3 separate regions of the Homo sapiens genome follow, and all the other regions are linked to region 1. The links are contacts of gene promoters, found by promoter capture Hi-C in blood cells and fetal thymus (Javierre and others, 2016). All regions are on one chromosome and are shown on one strand. The core of a region is centred on a gene start or on the middle of the fragment in contact, and the rest is flanking DNA. Distances in the headings are between cores, read along the strand shown. Region 1 holds the start of SNX7 (sorting nexin 7). Region 2 has its middle 5.1 kb from the start of LINC01708. Region 3 has its middle 51 kb from the start of LINC01708.

Region 1 (2,700 bases), core at 141-2,640:
CAACTGTCGTTGATCTGAACATGAAGTATGTGTGGAATATAAAAAGGCAGAGTTTACAACTAAACATAAAATAATTCCATTGTTTTACTACTTAACAGAAAAGTCAAGAGCACAAAACTGTGATAGTCTGTTTAAATATTCGGAATACAAACCTGGGCCTATCATTCCATTTAAACCGAAGTAGAAATAAGTTTTATATACTCCTCTTTGGAGTCAGAGTATGCATGGTCACTTCCTAACTTTGGTTTGCTCTCCCAGAGTAAATGCGGTGGTTAAGTAGGTCGTTTGCTTTACCTAATATCTCCAGGTAACGTTAAAATGAACAGGCTTCTTAGTAATGAATACAGCGTTGTGATCTGAACTCAGGTCTTCTCTCAGCAGCAACTTGAGAAACTGGAGTGACATTCAACCTCCCTGCAAGAAAGGTATTTTTCTTTTCTAAAACCCTTTAAGAAATTACAAACACCAGTCTACACGTACCAAAAGTCTACCACTAGCCCCCACAAGTCAATTTCCCTCCAACAGTAAAATAAGCAAATAAGAGCCTTTGGTCCTAAATTTCCCGGGGGCAAGGAAAAACGAAAGCACTGGCTGTGGGTTGGGTGGCAGTAGCTGACCATCTGAAAAATCCTTAGCTCCTCAGCGGAGGAGCTTCCTGTTAGAAACAACCGTTTTCTCCTGTTCAGGGAGATTTCCTAGAACCTATTCCCACAAGACCCGAGACTCACCCAAGTCTCAAATCCACAAGCAACAACACTAAATTAAGAATAATTTCTCTAAACTTGGCTGCTCTCCCAGAGTTCAGGGCTGGCCTCGCCCGAAAAGCAGCTGGCGGGAGCGGTTTTGAGCCACCAGCCTCCCAGGTTCGGGAGCTGCCGCGAGGAAGATGTCTGTGTCAGAGAAGCAGAAAGGGAAAACAAATCACAACTTTGCAGACTCCACTAAGCCACAGCCCCGCCGAACGGAAGGTCAAAGTGCGGAGGAGGGAGCGGCTGCGGTTTGAGGCCCCGAGGCGACGCGGCCCCGGGTGCGGCCAGAGCTGGCAGGCGGGGTCCAGCAGCCCGGGGGACCTCACTCGTCCCCAGCTCAGAGCCACCGCCCCGGGAGGGCAAGCGCGCCAGAGGCAGCCGTCGGCGCAATGCTGGCAACGCCCGGAGTTGCCTTGGAAGTTTCCCGGGACTCGCCGCCGCCGCCCTCACCTTGCTGAACACCTCCAGGTCGTCCTCGTCCTCGTCCAGATCCAGCACCTCCGCCTGCAGCAGGGCGGAAGAGCCACTGCTGCCCGGAAAGGGGGCGCCGCCCCCCGGGCTCTCCCCGTTGGCGCCCCCGGCCGGGAGGCCCGAGGAGGGCGCCTGCGATGCCCGGCGCTCGCCCTCCATCCCGAGAGTGCGCGCCCAGCCGGCCGCCACCGCCGCCGCCAGCCCGGCTCCCCCGAGCGTGCCCATTGGCTCCCACGTCTCCTGCACCTCCCCGGCCGGCCCCGCTCCAGCCCCTCGCCCGCTGCGCAGACGCGGAACTGCCGGGACCAGCGCTGGCCCGGGCCGGGCGCATCCCCACCTGGCCTGGGGCGGGCTGGAGGGGCGGAACTGGGACTCTCGGACTCCGGCTACGTTGGAGAAAGGGTTGGCTGTACCCTGGAGAAGAGGAGAGACTCAAAGGTAGGAGGTGGGCGTCCTCGCATTGACCCAGTCGGGGGCCACCGAGTGACGGTTTCCGCAGTGGCGGGGTCTGGGAAGAAGCCACGAAGCGAACCGTCCACTTCGCGGGATCCACAGCGAGGCTGGAAGGCACCCGACCCAGCCTTGCCAAGAGAAAAAAAAAAAACAGCAATAACAATACTGTATTTCCTGTATTCAGTGGTTGCCTTTCTTCTTGGTTGTGATTTTCGAGCTAATGTAAAAATAAAGACATGAAAACTTCCCGTTTTGTTAATTGATTTTTGACCCAGTGACTGGCCTGTGCGGTCATTTCACTGTCGAGCCAGGAAAGCTGAGCTTTACAAACTATTTTCAGCCACTTTCAAATGCATCTTTACTCCTGGACGTCTTCCTGAAGTTAATGAGCAGAATGTTACCAAGACCCAAGGACAACTAGCAAGTCTGGAAAATTGCCACCGAGAAATAATCTTCAGTCCTTGCATTGCCAAGGCAAAGCTTTAATTATTTAACTGCTTATTATTCAAAAACAAAACTAAGTTCCAAAACTAATGGAAAATTTTGCCCACGTTGATATATTCTTTAATTTATCTTCAGGTTTTATTTACTTCCGTCAGCCCCACCTCTTTTCTGTAGGCCCATTTAAAAATTTTTAAATACATTAAGCTCTATGTAAGAATTCCTTATTTGGGGAAATAGAGAATATCTTTATTTCTGATTAGAGGCAAGGCCTTAATAATATATTATCTCCTAATCATTCAAATGTATTCCCATTGATTTCAGACGTGCACCCACCCTTCAGTCAGGTTGGTCACTGCCCCATGAGTATCCACATTTGTTTCTGTGCTTGATGATTTCTGTACTTTAAATGCCATCTCCTGCCCATCCTTCAGAAATTAAATATAGTCCCATCTCTTTCAGAAAGACTTTCTAAATGACAGTCTGTTCTCAATTTAGCATTTAATTTTATTCCATCTTGCAGATTGTATTTGTTTCATGTACAAGTTTTCCATTCCTTAGTAAATGATAACATTTTCAGGTTGAG
Region 2 (2,700 bases), core at 52-2,551, 830 kb before region 1:
AAGGAAGATACCCAGAAAGCATATAAAGGTGATGTAATTGTTTCTTTTCTTTCTTCTACTTCTTTTTTTTTTCTTGGATTGAGAGAAGGCAAACTAAATTCATAAAACAAAGCAGCATCAAAGACAACTGAATCAGGACAAGAAATGGTGAAAGTGTAGCAGGGAAAACAATCTGTTACTTTATACATACCCTAACAAATGCATGAAAGTTTGAAACCTCAATGAAACCTCAAGGAAACCCCATGAATGAAAATAGGATGCTCCTCTTTCAACGATCAAGCAAGTGAACATATCAATTTGGAGATTACAAAACAATGAAAAGTGACTAACAGTATGTTTGTCAAAGATACATTCAAATGCATTTTACAAAACAACTTCAACAATAGTTCATGAACTAAGCAGGACAACGGGAGAATAAGCTGAGTTCTAGTCAGAATTATTACCAATACTTTGTGTCATAGGTGTCAGGGCCTGTTACTCCTTTATACCCCCTCCACTCTTTTGCTGAGTGAATATTCTGATTTTATTTTTGAGATAGAAATCTGTGCAAGAAAAAGTAGCAAAGCATTTTAAGGGTAAATGATTCAAAATCTCAGGCGGCAACATATGTGTGTATATGTGTATATACACACATACAAACTCATTTCTCACATTTGGAACTATTAAGTTAAAGATCAGACATATAATTTACATTACTGTTGAAGGTGAAAGGGGGTGCTATTTATAATTTTCACTGGGGAAACAGGTACAAACCTGGACTGTCCCAGGCAGAATTAGATGTATGGTGACCCTAGTTATAGGAACCACACAGACTTTGTTAAACAGGACAAAGCCAATGTTCTTTGTGCTCCTCTAAGGAGCTCCTGGAGCTTTTGGTCTTGACATATCAGAAATTTTGGTATAGGCATAATTTATAATGTAAGTGCTGAGTAGGGACCAGTATAATATTGTAGTTAAGAGCATTACTAGTTTCAAATCCTGGCTAATTAATTGTGTGACGTTGGGCAAGATACATCTATATGAGCAGCTACTCTGTGCCTTAGCTTCTTCATTTGTAAATTGAGAACAATAATTGGTTATAGTGAGAATTAAATGAGTTAATATATGGAAATTTCTTGTAGCAAGGTCTGGCTCACAGCATTATATATTATTATATATTGTCATTTTGTGTAATTATCCCCATTTTATAGATTTCAGAAGACACACACACAACCAAATGAAACAAATAAATTATATTTCAGGGTTTATCTGATGTCTTTTAGGTTCACTTTAGAATATTCAAGAAGATATCCAGGCATTAGCCTGAGCTGGAAACTTGGGTCTCCCACAGAAAGAACTATCTTCCCGGTTTTCTCTGGAAATGAGTGGAGGGAATGAAAAGGTACTATTAGCCCTTATTTTATTGGTTTGGTTTCAAGTCTCTGAGATGTCCAATGTTGATCAGACTTATGGTGGAGGTGCTACTCATATAGATGCATTTTCAAGGCAAGTGAGGTTTAAAAAATACTAAAAACATCTGGAACAACCACAGTGGGGTCCATATTTTTATGTTTACATTTAAATCTCCCATGCCCGGCTAAAACTTCTTCATCATTGTAAATAATAAAAATTACAGCTAACATTCTTGAACACTTACTAGGTGCCAGGCCCACCCCTAAGTGTTCATATGTGTTAACTCCTTTAATCCTTACAACACGTACTTGAGGTAAGTACTATTGTTATTACCATTTTGCAAATGAAGATACTGAGGGACAGAGAGTTTGAGGATTTATTTATCTCTGCATTTTGCCAGTGCCATACATACCAGGCACCTAATATTTACTGGATCAAATTTTGCATGCAGATTTATTAATATTTCCTAGCAGAGCTCATTTGCGTGGTTGATTTTTTTTTTCAGTAAAAAGAACTTTTGAGAATCTGTTTAGAGGAAAAACATTTACAGCTGCCTTGTTACCCTTGCCTATATTTGTCTGTGGTATTTTGATTTCTGCAAGACCATAAGAGTTAGTAATCACAAATAACATTTCAAATAACCTTTTAAGTACCATTTTAGGTAAGGATAGAAATATTAAATGAGATTTTCAGTTCTGGAAATCAGTCTGACAAACGAATATAGATTGCTTTTAATAAATCATTTATATTTGGCTTAAAAAGCATTATGGTGGATTTTTTTCTCTAATGATTTGATTCCTAATTATGTTTACCTCAGGACAATATCATAATTGCTTGTATTTTCCAAGCATACACCAGCTGATGAGAAGGGAGGAGGGACATTATTGGACAGTTCTGTAAATGCCAGTAGGCCAGTTTGGGGTTAATGGTGAATCTCTGACTCCTCCACGGAGTGGAAAATCTCTGCGGGAACATCCTTCAGTGGATTGCATGCCAGTGGTAAAATGCGTGAAGCACAGAGAGGAAGCCGAGCAGCGAAAGAGGCAGCAGGAAAGACATAAACAGCAGAGAACATGGGGAAGATAACACAGAGTAGCCATTAGAGGCGATTGGTCAGGGAGGCCAAATGAAGTTGGTAGTAAATTTTTATCCTCCTCAATAGGCTATTTTGCAATGGTACTTTGTATATTAAATGATTTGCTGAAAAAGCAGATACCACATTTTAATGTTCTGTGTCAGTTATAGAAAACTATAACAGGGGAAAAATAGTGTTCCCAAGGATAAGGTAATATCATTGTTTGTTTATTT
Region 3 (2,700 bases), core at 59-2,558, 880 kb before region 1:
TGATTCTACATTACGGTGAGTTGTATAATTATTTCATTATATATTACAATGTAATAGTAATAGGAATAAAGTGCAAAATAAATGTAATGTACTTGAATCATCCTGAAGCCAACTCCCATGCCTGGCTGTGGAAAAATTATCTTCCACAAAACTGGTCCCTGATGCCAAAAAGTTGGGAATAAACTGGCTTAAACAACAGAAATTTATTGTATAACAGTTCTGGAGGTATCAGGTATCAGTAGGGTTGGTTACTTCCTAGGGGGTGAGGCAGAAATTAGTTCCATGCATCCCTTTAGTTTCTGGTGGGTTTTGGCAATCTTTTGGCATTCTTTGGCTCTGTTGCATTACCCTAATCTCCCTTCATCTTTACATGGAGTTCTCTCTTTGAGCACATCAGTGTCTTTTTATTTTTATTTTTTGCCCAGATTTACTGGAATTAGGTTACTGTTGCTTTCAATGGAAAGACCTAGGCCTTTGAGACTTCAGTAGGTTTGCTAATACAGTTGATTGTTGAACAACATGGGTTTAAACTGTGTAGGTCCACTTATATGTGGATTTCCTTTCGCCTCTGCTATCTCTGAGGCAGCAAGAACAACCCCTTCTCTTCCTCCATTCCTCAGGCTACTCAACATGAGGATGATGAGGATGAAGACTTTATGAAGATCCACTTCCACTTAATGAACAGTAAATGTATTTTCTCTTCCTTATGATTTCCTTAATAACATTTTCTTTTCTCTAGCTTACTTTATTGTAAGAATACAACATATAATACATGGAAAATATAAAATATATGTTAACTGTTCATGTTATCAGTAAGACTTTCTGTCAACAGTAAGCTATTAGTAGTTAAGTTTTTGGGGAGTCAAAAGTTGTATGTGAATTTTTGACTGTGTGGGAGGTCAGCACTCCTAACCTCACATTGTTTAAAGATCAACTCTAGACAGAATGGAGTGAAACTTGGAGATCCAGATGGATAAATAATCTATTTGTTTATTTATTTGAGACAGTTTCTCATTCTATTGCTCAGCCTGGAGTATAGTGGCATTATCATGACTCACTCTCACTGTAGCCTTGACCTTCTGAGATCAAGCAATCCTCCTGTCTCAGCCTCCCAAGTAGCTGGGACTACAGGTGGGCACCAACATGCCCAGCTAATTCTGGAGACAGAGTCTCCCTATGTTTCCCAGGCTGGTCTCAAATCTCTGGGCTCAGGTGATCGCCTCATCTTGGCCTCTCAAAGTGCTGGGATTACAGGTGTGAGCCACTGAACCTGGTCCATTTATTTATCTTTTGGTAGTCAAAAAAAATGAATAGCAAGGAGTCTGAAATGCACTATAGGAAAAGATGGTAGAATTAAGAAGAGGACTGATTTTTGGGATAACAGTGCAGGATAGGCCTGGCTTCAGAGTCTAGTTATTGGGCTGGATCCTAAATTAAGGACACTAAAATCTTTCTCCTTATTTAGATTCCCTAATTTGGTCACATGAATTAGCTATAATTGCAGGTTGGTCTCTACTGTAGTTTGATGCTAATCTATGCTTACACTTGTAGAGACACTGAAATAACTGCATGCCAAGAAGATGACGTTCACATTCACATCCTGACCCCGTAGCTATAATTGGACCTCTAGATCTCCTACTTCAGAAAGTATATCAAAATACAAGTGAAAAGAGTGTTTTTGGAAAAAAACAAAAACAAAAACAAACCTTGGACTTATTTAAATTCTTTGTGGAATAAAGAATTTAACCTTTTCCAAAGAGAGATCTGGCCTTTGCCCTCAGCTTCTGGGAGGTAATCTCTATGTTCTTGCAATGTCATACCTGATAGGAGTGTCTTATTTGGGAATTTAGGCTGTGCCAGACAGCCTAACAGTGCAATTTATAATGGAAGTTTTGAGTCATGTCAACCAAAATTAAGGCTGCTGAGGCAGAAATAATTTGACAAAAGTTTGTTGGAAGCCAACTGTGAGGACTGACCTGGGAAAACACACCAAAAAAGTTGGGCATATTCCACAGTCCACTACCAGTTGGAAGGCTTTTACAGGAAAGTTTAGAAGAAGGGAGGAGGACTCCTCACACCAAAATTGTCCTTTTCATTGTGGGGTGCAATACGGAGGTTATAATCATTGGCTACAGATTACAACATAAAAGCTAAAATGTTCTACATGCAAGACAACCAGTAAAAGTTCATGACTCAGAAACAAATCAGTGTTCTTTTCGATGTTAGTAGGTTACGTATTAATTAGTATGTCAACAATTTGAGGAACTCCCGACAAGATTTGAGGAACTCACGACAGGATTCTTTAGTCAGAGTCAGGATGTAAGCCTTTCAGCCTAACCTAACCTGCATCCTAAACTGTCATCATAAGTATAACAGCATCCAGAGAGCTCTGTGAGTCTTTCTAGTGCATTATTAAACCTAAGTATGGTCTTAGAGATCCTAAACTTGAAATGGTGTCAGAAGTGGGGGTAGTCTTGTGGACTACCCTTTAACATCACACTCAAAAAGTAAATAATTTGCAAACTATGTTCCTGTAATTACTAATCATGCTAAATTAATCTGTGAAGAACTGTTAACATGAACATCTGATATAAGAATAATGCTGATGGCTGGTTATTGAAAAGAAGAGAATTTGGGATTTAAGCACCCAGCAAGTCCTCTGAGTACTGAAGTATTCATTTATTCATTCAACAAATATTT

What was found. Contacts are between HindIII fragments. The CHiCAGO score rates a contact against its expected background, and 5 or more counts as called.
Region 2: a fragment that was not itself captured here is called in contact with the fragment with the promoter of SNX7 in region 1 in 4 of 17 cell types (non-activated CD4 T cells, fetal thymus, activated CD4 T cells and 1 more); the score reaches 5.6 in non-activated CD4 T cells.
Region 3: a contact is called between a fragment that was not itself captured here and the fragment with the promoter of SNX7 in region 1, in 4 of 17 cell types (neutrophils, total CD4 T cells, naive CD4 T cells and 1 more). The highest score is 6.4, in neutrophils.

What each region holds. Positions count from the first base shown.
Region 1 is chr1:98,660,411-98,663,110 of GRCh38, reverse strand. SNX7 (sorting nexin 7) reads right to left here and starts at 1,390. Exons shown (of 9, transcript NM_015976.5): 1 at 1,200-1,390. The coding sequence starts at 1,379. It overlaps SNX7-DT (SNX7 divergent transcript), which reads left to right and starts at 2,339. Exons shown (of 1, transcript NR_189290.1): 1 at 2,339-2,700. RefSeq lists silencers at 1,009-1,078, 1,309-1,428, 1,449-1,588. The HindIII fragment of the contact is 2,557 bases long and covers 1-2,155 here.
Region 2 is chr1:99,491,532-99,494,231 of GRCh38, reverse strand. No RefSeq gene overlaps it. Among named protein-coding and RNA genes, the nearest start is that of LINC01708, 5.1 kb to the right of the region's middle. The HindIII fragment of the contact is 3,914 bases long and covers 1-2,700 here.
Region 3 is chr1:99,537,643-99,540,342 of GRCh38, reverse strand. No RefSeq gene overlaps it. Among named protein-coding and RNA genes, the nearest start is that of LINC01708, 51 kb to the right of the region's middle. The HindIII fragment of the contact is 8,149 bases long and covers 1-2,700 here.